2 separate regions of the Homo sapiens genome follow, and region 2 is linked to region 1. Evidence: promoter capture Hi-C in human tissues and cell types (Jung and others, 2019). All regions are on one chromosome and are shown on one strand. Each heading gives the region's core, a stretch centred on a gene start or on the middle of the fragment in contact. The rest is flanking DNA. Distances are from core to core; before and after follow the strand shown.

Region 1 (5,551 bases), core at 2,351-4,850:
AAATGAGTGACCACTGTCTGAACTATTTGCTTTATTTTTCTGTAAAACTAGTTTAATAATGTGGTTGCCTTGGTATGACAATTTATTCTATAAATAAGTGTAAGAGAAAGAAGAACAAGAAAGTGATAATTGCATCACTCCTAGAAGGCTGTCAATTACATTAAACTTACCCAAAGCGGGAAAAATCTCCAAATCAGAATATTAAGCATGGCTTTATAATAACAATGCAAAAAATGTGTTTATAAAACCATTTGTGTATGCAGAAGATTGAAACTGGACCTGTTCCTTACACTATATACAAAAATTAACTCAAGATGGATTAAAGATCCGAAACTATAAAAACCCTGGAAGACAACATTGGCAATACTGTTATAGACATAGGAATGAGCAAAGATTTCATGAAGAAGATGCCAAAAGCAATGGCAATGAAAGCAAAAATTAACAAATGAGATATAATTAAACTAAAGAGCTTCTGCACAGCAAAAGAAACTATCAACAGAGTAAAGAGACAACCTACAGAATGGGAGAAAATTTTTGCAAACTATGCATCTGACAAAGGCCTAATATCCAACATCTATAAATTAAACAAATTTACAAGAAACAAACAACCCCATTAAAAAGTGGGTAAAGGACATGAACAGACATTTTTCAAAATAAGACATACATGTGGCCAACAAGCGTATGGAAAAAAGCTCAACATCACTGATCATCAGAGAAATGCAAATCAAAACCATAACGAGCCACCATCTCACACCAGTCAGAATGGCTGTTATCAAAAAGCCAAAAAATAACAGGTATGGGTGAGGTTGTGGAGAAAAAGGAACATTTATACACTGTTAGTGGGAGTGTAAATTAGTTCAACAATTGTGGAAAACAGTGTGGCGATCCCTCAAAGACTAAAAGCAAAACTACAATTTGATCCAGCAATCCCATTACTGGGTATATACTCAAAGGAATATAAATCATTCTATAATAAAGACATATGCATGCGTATGTTCATTATAGCACTATTCACAATAGCAAAGACATGCAATCAACCTAAATGCCCAACAGTGGTAGACTGGATAAAGAATACGTGGTGCCTACATACCATGGAATACTAGGCAGCCATAAAAAAGAACAAGATGGAGCTAGAGGCCACTATCCTTAGCAAACTAACATAGGAACAGAAAACCAAATATCTCATGGTCTCACTTATAATTGGGAGCTAAAAGATGAGAACACATGGACACAAAGAAGGGAACCACACACACTGGGGCTTACTGAAGGATGGAGAGTGGAAGGAGGCGGAGGATCAGGAAAAATAACTAATGGGCACTAGGCTTAATACCTGGGTCATGATATAATTAGTACAATAAACCTCCACGACATGAGTTTACCTATATAACAGGCCTGTACATGTACCCCTGAACTTAAAAGTTAAAAAATAAAAATCCATTAGTGGCTGGGTGTGGTGGCTCATGCCTGTAATCCCAGCACTTTGGGAGCGAGAGGTGGGAGGACTGCTTGAGCCAAGGACAGCCTGGGCAATTTAGCTACACTCTGCCTCCACAAAAATTTAAAAATTAGCTGGTTGTGGTGCTGTGTGCCTATAGCCCCCACTACTCAGAAGGCTGAGGTGGAAGGACTGCTTGAGCCCCGAAAGTTGAGGCTGCCATGTCCATACCACTGCACCACTCCAGTCTGAGTGACAGAGTGAGATCCTATCTCAAAGAAAAAAGAAAAACCATCTGTATTTCCAATTCTTCTTCTCAACAGAGTATAGCAGAAAAATGACACACAAACATCACATGTAGAGTTTGCATCAGAAGAGGTCTTTAAAAAGATCAAGACAACAGATTTTTACAGTTAAAAGAGACCTCTTGGTTATCTAGTTCAACTTTCTTCTATGTATGAATCTCTATAGTATGCCTGATAAATGCTCATCTACCTTCTACTTGAATATTCTCAGTGATGGAGAAATCACTATTTGAGAAGGTACTTGATTCCTTATTTTGACAATTATAATGTCCAAGTTAAACCCAATGAACCCAGCCCTTCCTTCTTAAACCACAGAGAATACTCCTTCTTCCTTATGGTAACCCTATAAATAATTAAACACAGCTATAAAGTCATCCCGTCTTTTTTTCCTCAGACTTTTCTAGTTTCATTCAACTACTTCTCATGTTATAGTTTTCAACATTTTCACCAAACTGATTGATATCCTCAGTGTATGTTCCCATTTGTTTCTACTGCTTCTAAAATGGAGCCTGGAGCAACACTCTAAGTGAGGTTAACCCAGAGTGGAGAATCTCCTAGGACAGGACTAGTATATATCTCTCATTATAAACTCCATACGGTTACTATTCAAATTTGTACTGGCTCTTACCTAAGGTAGAGTCAAACCTTGACAATGGCTAGTAGGAAAAAGGATGACATGAAGCCAGGATGGGACCAGAGCTGAGAGAACTGATCCCACTCTGGCACCGGATCTTTGGTGGGAAGGCAAAGCTGTCTAAAGGAGTCCTAGATATATCAAAGACATTCAGGGTGTTTTGACAGGTGGACCAGGAAAATATTGCTGGAGGAATATTTGAAGTCAGACATGTGGCAGCATCATGCCTCCAATAGGTTTTGGAGCAGGCTCTCATCATCCCTTAGGGAACATGAGAATAAAGACCTAACCCCTAGGGGAAAATGTTGCAAAGAGCTTTTGCTGTGTTTTCAGATGACTTTGCAAATTAAAGTCAAGAAGACTGGAGTTCAAAGAAGGGCTGTATTTCTAGGCAGAAACTGAGGTAGTAAGAATCTGGTGTCATAAAGACCTTTGTTGAATTCCATCTTTTCTGCTTTCCAAGCCTAAGTTTCCTCATGTAAAAATGGGGATAAGCACTTAACTTTAGTACTTTAAGTACTAACTTTAAAGGACTGCTGTGAAGATCTAGTGGGATAATATATGTAGTTAGGCATGCAGTTAGTGCTTATCAAATGTTATTATTATAGATTAAGATGCACAAATAAAATATAAGTTAAATAAATTTTAAAATAATTTCACTTTTGAAGCTTTTAAAGTAATTATGTACTAAGAGCATTTTCTCAAATTATTCTTAACACTTCCTTTAAGAAAAGGGCTATATCTGTTTTTTGAAAGATGACCAGAAGTGACATGGATTGGTTGAAAATGGCTTGTAAAGTAAGCCTAACATTTATGATTTATTACCATAAAAACTGTACCAACAGTACGGTTATAACAAATACACTTATTTTTGGGTTTTATTTTCAAGTAAGATAATGACTTTATCATAAACCTTTGAAATCAGTCTTTTTACAGTATAAATTCAGATTCATTAATCCACATAGAATTTTTCTCGATGGTATAATTCTGTATTTGTTAAAAGTCTTTGCATAAGCCCCTTGTCAAGCCAAATGCTGTTTTCCTTTTAGTATCCAATTATCTGAAACTTAAGAAGAGTGTGCACCGCCCAATGGGTGTGTGTATGTGCTGCTTTGAACCTATAGTTGAGATCCAGAGAATTGGGAGTGACATCATCTGTAACAATAAAAGAGCCTCTCTTGGTAAGCAGAAGACCTATATATAAAAGTCACCATTTAAGGGGTCTGCAGTCCAATTCATCAGTTGTCTTTAGTTTACTCAGCATCAGCTACTAACATACCTGAACGAAGATCTTGTTCTAAGACATTGTATGGTAAGTAAACTTAAAAATTCACTTCTGAATCTCATGAGATTTTGATAATCAAGTTATTATTTAATGTGTACCATTTCTACAAATACCATGTTGTTTCTTCAAGGTAAAATGCTAAGAAGTTTGAGTTATGTTTAATATAAAATGCCACATACAAAATAAATTAATGCTACTCAAATCACAAAATCCTTTTTGATTAAAGTCTTCTGAGATACCTTGCCTTTTAAAACCTCATCTGAAATTACAACAAAAAATCATTAAAATTTGGCATGCTATGCTTTAATATAATAGTATCGGTGTCAAAATTTTGAAATAAAACAGGTTGATGGTGAATGAATAGTTCTGATTTAAATAATCTTTATAAATTTATTAAGTGGAGTTAATATTCTGTTTTTCCTGCAGAGTATTCTTATCTAGATTATTTATTTTATGGCTCATAAAGAGCCCAATCTGTATACTAAAGTTGGATAAGCCCAGTTTGACTAGTAAATATTTATTTCCTTTACATAAATGACAGCTGTATTCTGAAAACAGTATTTCCTATGCTATTTCTAAATGATGCAGTTTCCCTGTAAAATAGGAGTACATAACTACTCTATGTGTATGTTAAAAGGTAGTACACTGAGCATTAAGGAAAAGCACTTCTATAATAACAGCCTTTGCAAGTACTGAAATGCAGATTAAGGCAAGAATATCCTATACTGATGTGAAACGAGGAAAGAGACAAAAGTTATATTAAAAGATAATTGTTAATAAAATAAGTTGAAGAAATAAGCTACAAACAAGCATTCCATTCAGAGATAAAGCTCGAAATCCATATCACAAGTAATTAATCAGATGATTTTTAAATGCTTTGACACATTATTTTTAATGCTAGGAGAAATGTGAATTAATTTAGTGAAAATCTCTAGATTAGCACCTATTAGTTTGGTATTTATGGTTATTACAATGCCTGAAATGAAGGTTACTTAAGAAAAGGATTTGCTACGTAAATAGTGTTAACAATTTACACTATGAAGAAAATTAGGCATTTTCAAGCAAGTTATAAACATTTAGGTATAATCAACATAAAATGCAGTGCGGGGGGATTTCTCAAAAATAGGCTCTTTCATTCCTCTTGTAGCTTAAGATTTCTGCAGTGTGACAGAAGGGAGCATGAGAAGCATGGCTCACCAGCCAGCCTCTATTGTCTATGTAATTAGAAGCTTCAGAACTCACTAATACCACTGTACCTTTCACTGGCGCATTACCCCATAAAACTTGAGATGAGGTGAGATCTGAGTATAAAGATAGGTCAGAAGTATTTTAAAGGGCTTAATTTGCCAAAAAGAAAAGTAAAAAGCTAGAGACCCTTTTTGCAGAACATTTGGTGACCACACATTTGAGGGAAGATGTGGCATTAGATGAAGCAGAAGCAAACCCTGCTCTTAGGGGCTCATCTAGGTGAGTGCACAGCCTGTGACACTACAGGGAGAGGCTCAGTAAACTGAGATCCAGCATTCTGTATGACAGAGGCATTGCTTATCACAGAGGTTCTGAATTTTAAGTAGGAAGTACATAATGAAGAGGGCTTTAAAAATTGCTAAGAAAGCGAGTCACCAGGGCTGGCAGTAGTGTAACAGGGCCATCCTGAGCTGTTAGGAGAGTAGATGCAGGGAGGGCTGGTGACCTCCGTGGGTTTATCTGTTGGAGACTCTTCTCTCCAAATCCCAGGCCTGGCTTCCAGCACCATCCAGCTGTGCCCAAGAAGCCACGCTGGTCTGTTCTCCAAGTCTTTTAAATGGTGCCTAATTTTTCTAAGTGAGCTTAGCAATGAGAAGAAAAAAAAAACATGAATTATTTTTCTGGAAAATCAAGGAGACATGGGT
Region 2 (5,153 bases), core at 2,116-4,615, 38 kb before region 1:
GAGACTTAATTGACTAACAGTTCCACAGGGCTGGGGAGGCCTCAGGAAACTTACAATCATGGTGGAGGGAGAAGCAAACATGTCCTTCTTTACATGGCAGCAGGAAGGAGAAGTGCTAAGCAAAGGGGGAAAAGTCCCTTATAAAACCATCAGATTTCATGAGAACTCACTCACTGTCGTGAAAAGAGCAGTATGGGGGTAACAGGCCCCGTGATTCAATTACTTCCCACCAGGTCCCTTCCATGACATGTGAGGATTATGGGAACTACAATACAAGAAGAGATTTGGGTGGGGACACAGCCAAACGATATCACTGCTTTTGGGAAATATTTCCCAATTCTCCCTATCACAGTTAGGGCTTTCCTCAACTGTATTTTCTGTGTATTATAATTACTGTACACATCTACACCCAACATTGAGGTTCTAAAACTTGTTTCCCTGGAACCTGGCCAAGGCTGTGGTACAAAATAGAAGCTATTCAATTTTAAAGTGCTTTCTAAAAAGTTATTTCGAGTCAATCTCTGCATCTCTAAGCTTCACTTTCCTAATTTGTAAAATTTAAATTGTAATACCTACTCCATAAAACCATTAGTAAATTGAACCTAATAATTTAAACAAATGCCCTTTGTAAACCATACTGTAACATATAACTTTTAATTCTAAAGTCACCTGTAGAATTAAAGTGTGATGAACTTTTAATTATAAAGTTCATCACACAAGTGTAAGGAGCATTTGAATCAGCAAGATGTCAAAATACCCTTTATTCCAGGTTTCATCCCTTCTACCAACCACCCTACCACCAGGTTCTCTTTGCTCCACTCGATGGGGGCATTACTCAAGTCAATAACAAGAAGTTACACCAGGGGGCTCCCCTGTATTTTCCATATGAAGTCTGCAAAGTGGCCTTCACAGGAAACCCAAATACTTCTGAGTTCCAAAGTATTTGCTCTCTTGGAACAAGACAACATAAAAGAATTCACAAACCTAGAAACAACATCATTCGTTTTTATCAAACCACTGTCTGAGACTTTCTTACTTCTTCTTAGCCTGTTAAACTAGTAGAAGGAATTACCAATCCTCTACTACTAAAGAGATATAAATACTAAAAGACAAACTGTCACTCGACTGAGGAATTCAATATATTATTTATTCACAGGTTTGATCCCAGGTTGAGCTCAATAGAGGACAAACACAAGAAGACAAACATTTAATTATCATCTTCCCAAAAAGATCTTGCAAATAGGAGATGGGGGGTGGGGAGGGTAAATAAATGAAAGTATATCTGATGTTTTCCTTTTTAAGATAATCAGCTACAAACTGTAATACAAGGGACCGTAGATAAAGAGTCAAGGACTGGTTCTAATGCTGGATGAACTTCTAACTTCTGCTAATTGAGTGATCACCTACCTTTAGACCTCAATTTTTTCACTTTTAAATGAGTTTTTTTGGGGAGAGAAGGGGTCTTCACATCAGCTTTAATGACATATTATTTACATATGATTGTATGTTTAAATAGTTCTTAAGTGTAATTTTTTTTTTTTTTTTTTTTTTGAGACAGAGTCTTGCTCTGTCGACCAGGCTGGAGTGCAGTGGTGCAATCTCAGCTCACTGCAAGCTCCACCTCCCAGGTTCACGCCATTTTCCTGCCTCAGCCTCCTATCTTAAGTGTAATTTAATGAGTTCTGAAAACGTATGTAGTGCTATTATCTATTCACCAGTTGAACATTTGGGTTGTTTCTAGGCTTTTAAAAATTATTATTACTGGTGGAGAGGCAAGATGGCCAAATAGGAACAGCTCCAATCTGCAGCTCCCAGTGAGACCAATGCAGAAGGTGGGTGACTTCTGCATTTCCAACTGAGGTACCCAGTTCATCTCACTGGGACTAGACAGTGGGTGCAGCCCACGGAGGGACAGCCAAAGCAGGGTGGGGAGTCAACTCACCCAGGAAGTGTAAGGGTTGGGGAACTCCCTCATCTTACCAAGGGAAGAGCTGAGGGACTGTGCCATGAGGGACAGTGCTATCTGGCCCAGATACTATGCTTTTCCCACAATTTTTGCAACCCGCAGACCAGGAGATTCCCTCGGGTGCCTACATCCCCAGGGCCCTGGGTTTCAAGCAAAAAACTGGGCGACTGAACAGACACCAAGCTAGCTGCAGAAGTTTTTTCTTTCCCATATCCCAGTGGCACCTGGAACCCCAGTGAGACAGAACTGTTCACCCCGCTGGAAAGGGGGCTGAAGCCAGGGAGCCAAGTGGTCTTGCTCAGTGGGTCCCACCCCATGGAGCACATCAAGCTAAGATCAACTGGCTTGAAATGCTCGCTGCCAGCACAGCAGTCTGAAGTCAACCTCGGACACTAGGTCAGCCTGGTCAGGGGAGAGGCATTCGCCATTACTGAGGCTTGAGTAGGCGGTTTATCCCTCACAGTGTAAACAAAGCTGCCAGAAGTTCACACTTGGTGGAGCCCACCACAGCGCGGCAAAGTCACTGTAGCCAGACTGACTCTCTAGATTTCTCCTCTCTGGGAAGGGCATCTCTGAAAGAAAGGCAGCAGCCCCAGTCAGGAGCTTATAGATAAAATTCCTATCTCCCTGGGACAGAACACCTGGGGGAAGGGGTGGCTGTGGGCACAGCTTCAGCAGACTTAAGCATTACTGGCCGCCAGCTGTGAAGAGAGCAGCGGATCTCCCAGCACAGCACTCAAGCTCTGCTAAGGGACAGACTGCCTCCTCAAGTGAGTCCCTGACCCCCATGCTTCCTGACTGGGAGACCCCTCCCAGCAGGGGTCGACAGATACCTCATACAAGCGAACTCTGGCTGGTATCTGGCGGGTGCCCCTCTGGGGTGAAGCTTCCAGAGGAAGGAGCAGGCAGCAATCTTTGCTGTTCTGCAGCCTCCACTGGTGATACCCAGGCAAATAGGGTCTGGAGTGGACCTCCAGCAAACACCAGCAGACCTGCAGCAGAGGGGCCTGTCTGTTAGAAAGAAAACTATCAAACAGAAAGCAATAACATCAAAGTCAACATCAAGTAAAAGGATGCCCATGCAAAAACCCCATCAAAGGTCCTCAGCATCAAAGATAAAAGGTAGATAAATCCACAAAGATGAGGAAATACCAGTGCAAAAAATGCTGAAAATTCCAAAAACCAGAATGCCTCTTCTCCTCCAAAGGAACACAACTCCTTGCCAGCAAGGGAACAAAACTGGATGGAGAATGAGTTTGACGAATTGACAGAAGTAGGCTTCAGAAGGTGGGTAATAACAAACTCCTTCGAGCTAAAGGAGCATGTTCTAACACAATGCAAGGAAGCTAAGAATGTTGGTAAAAGGTTACAGGAACTGCTAACTAGAATAACCATTTTAGAGAAGAACATAAATGACCTGATGGAGCTGAAAACACAGCATGAGAACTTCATGAAGCATACACAAGTATCAATAGCCAAATTGATCAAGCAGAAGAAAGGATATGAGATTGAAGATCAATTTAATGAAATGAAGCATGAAGACAAGATAGAGAAAAAAGAATGAAAAGGAATGAACAAAGCCTCCAAGAAATGTGGGACTATGTGAAAAGACCAAAACTACAAATGACTGGTGTACCTCAAAGTGATGGGGAGAATGGAACCAAGCTGTAAAACACTCTTCAGGATATTATCCAGGAGAACTTCCCCAACCTAGCAAGACAGGCCAACATTCAAATTAAGGAAATACAGAGAACACCACTAAGATACTCCTTGAGAAGAGCAACCCCAAGACACATAATCATCAGATTCACCAAGGATGAAAAGAAGGAAAAAATGTTAAGGGCAGCCAGAGAGAAAGGTCAGGTTACCCTCAAAGGGAAGCCCAGTAGACTAACAGCAGATATCTCTGCAAAAACCCTACAAGCCAGAAGAGAGTGGGGGCCAATATTCAACATTCTTAAAGAAAAGAATTTTCAACCCAGAATTTCATATGCAGCCAAACTAAGCTTCATAAGCGAAGGAGAAATAAAATCCTTTACAGACAAGCAAATATTGAGGGATTTTTGTCACCAACAGGCCTGCCTTACAAGAGCTCCTGAGGAAGCACTAAATACAGAAAGGAAAAACTGGTACCAGCCACTGCAAAAACATACCAAAATATAAAGACAAATGACACTATGAAGAAGCTGCATCAACTAATGTGCAAAATAACCAGCTAGCATTATGATGACAGGATCAAATTAACACATAACAATATTAAGCTTAAATGTAAATGCCCCAATTAAAAGACACAGACTGGCAAATTGGATAAAGAGTCAAGACCCATTGGTGTGCTGTATTCAGGAGACTCATCTCATATGAGCTACACATAGGCTCACAATAAAGGGATGGAGGAATATTTACAAAGCAAATGAAAACCCAAAAAAAGCAGGAGTTGCAATCCTAGTCTCTAATAAAACACACTTTAAACCAACAAAGATAAAAAAAGACGAAGAAGGGCATTACATAATGGTAAAGAGATCAATGCAACAAGAAGAGCTAACTATCCTAAATATATATGCACCCAATACAGGAGCAACCAGAATCATAAAGCAAGTTCTTAGAGACCTACAAAGAGACTTAGACTCCCACACAATAATAGTGGGAGACTTTAACACCCCACTGTCAATATTAGACAGATCAATGAGACAGAAAATTAACAAGAATATTCAGGACTTGAACTCAGCTCTGGGCCAAGCAGACCTTATAGACATCTACTGAATACTCCCCCCAAAATCAACAGAATATGCATTCTTTTCAGCATCACATAGCACTTATTTTAAAACAGACCACATAATTGGAAGTAAAACACTCCTCAGCAAATGTAAAAGAACAGAAATCATAACAAACAGTCTCTTAGACCACAGTGCAATCAAGTTAGAGCTCAGAATTAAGAAACTCACTCAAAACCGCACAACTACATAGAAACCAAACAACCTGCTCCTGAATGACTACTGGGTAAATGATGAAATTAAGGCAGAAATAAATATCTTCTTTGAAACTAACGAGAACAAAGACACAACGTACCAGAATTTCTGAGACACAGCTAAAGCATTGTTTAGAGGGAAATTTATAGCACTAAATGCCCACAGGAGAAAATGGGAGAAATCTAACATCAACACCCTAACATCACAATTAAAAGAACTAG

What was found. The method cuts DNA at HindIII sites, captures the fragments that hold promoters and counts their contacts. A contact is called where the count stands out against the background at its distance.
Region 2: a fragment that was not itself captured here is called in contact with the fragment with the promoter of PTH in region 1 in 2 of the 25 tissues and cell types used here (hippocampus and thymus).

What each region holds. Positions count from the first base shown.
Region 1 is chr11:13,494,046-13,499,596 of GRCh38, reverse strand. PTH (parathyroid hormone) reads left to right here and starts at 3,600. Exons shown (of 3, transcript NM_000315.4): 1 at 3,600-3,686. RefSeq lists silencers at 179-279, 1-280, an enhancer at 3,205-3,226 and promoters at 3,441-3,603, 2,596-3,655, 2,917-3,667. The HindIII fragment of the contact is 4,838 bases long and covers 923-5,551 here.
Region 2 is chr11:13,531,741-13,536,893 of GRCh38, reverse strand. No RefSeq gene overlaps it. Among named protein-coding and RNA genes, the nearest start is that of PTH, 38 kb to the right of the region's middle. The HindIII fragment of the contact is 3,343 bases long and covers 1,694-5,036 here.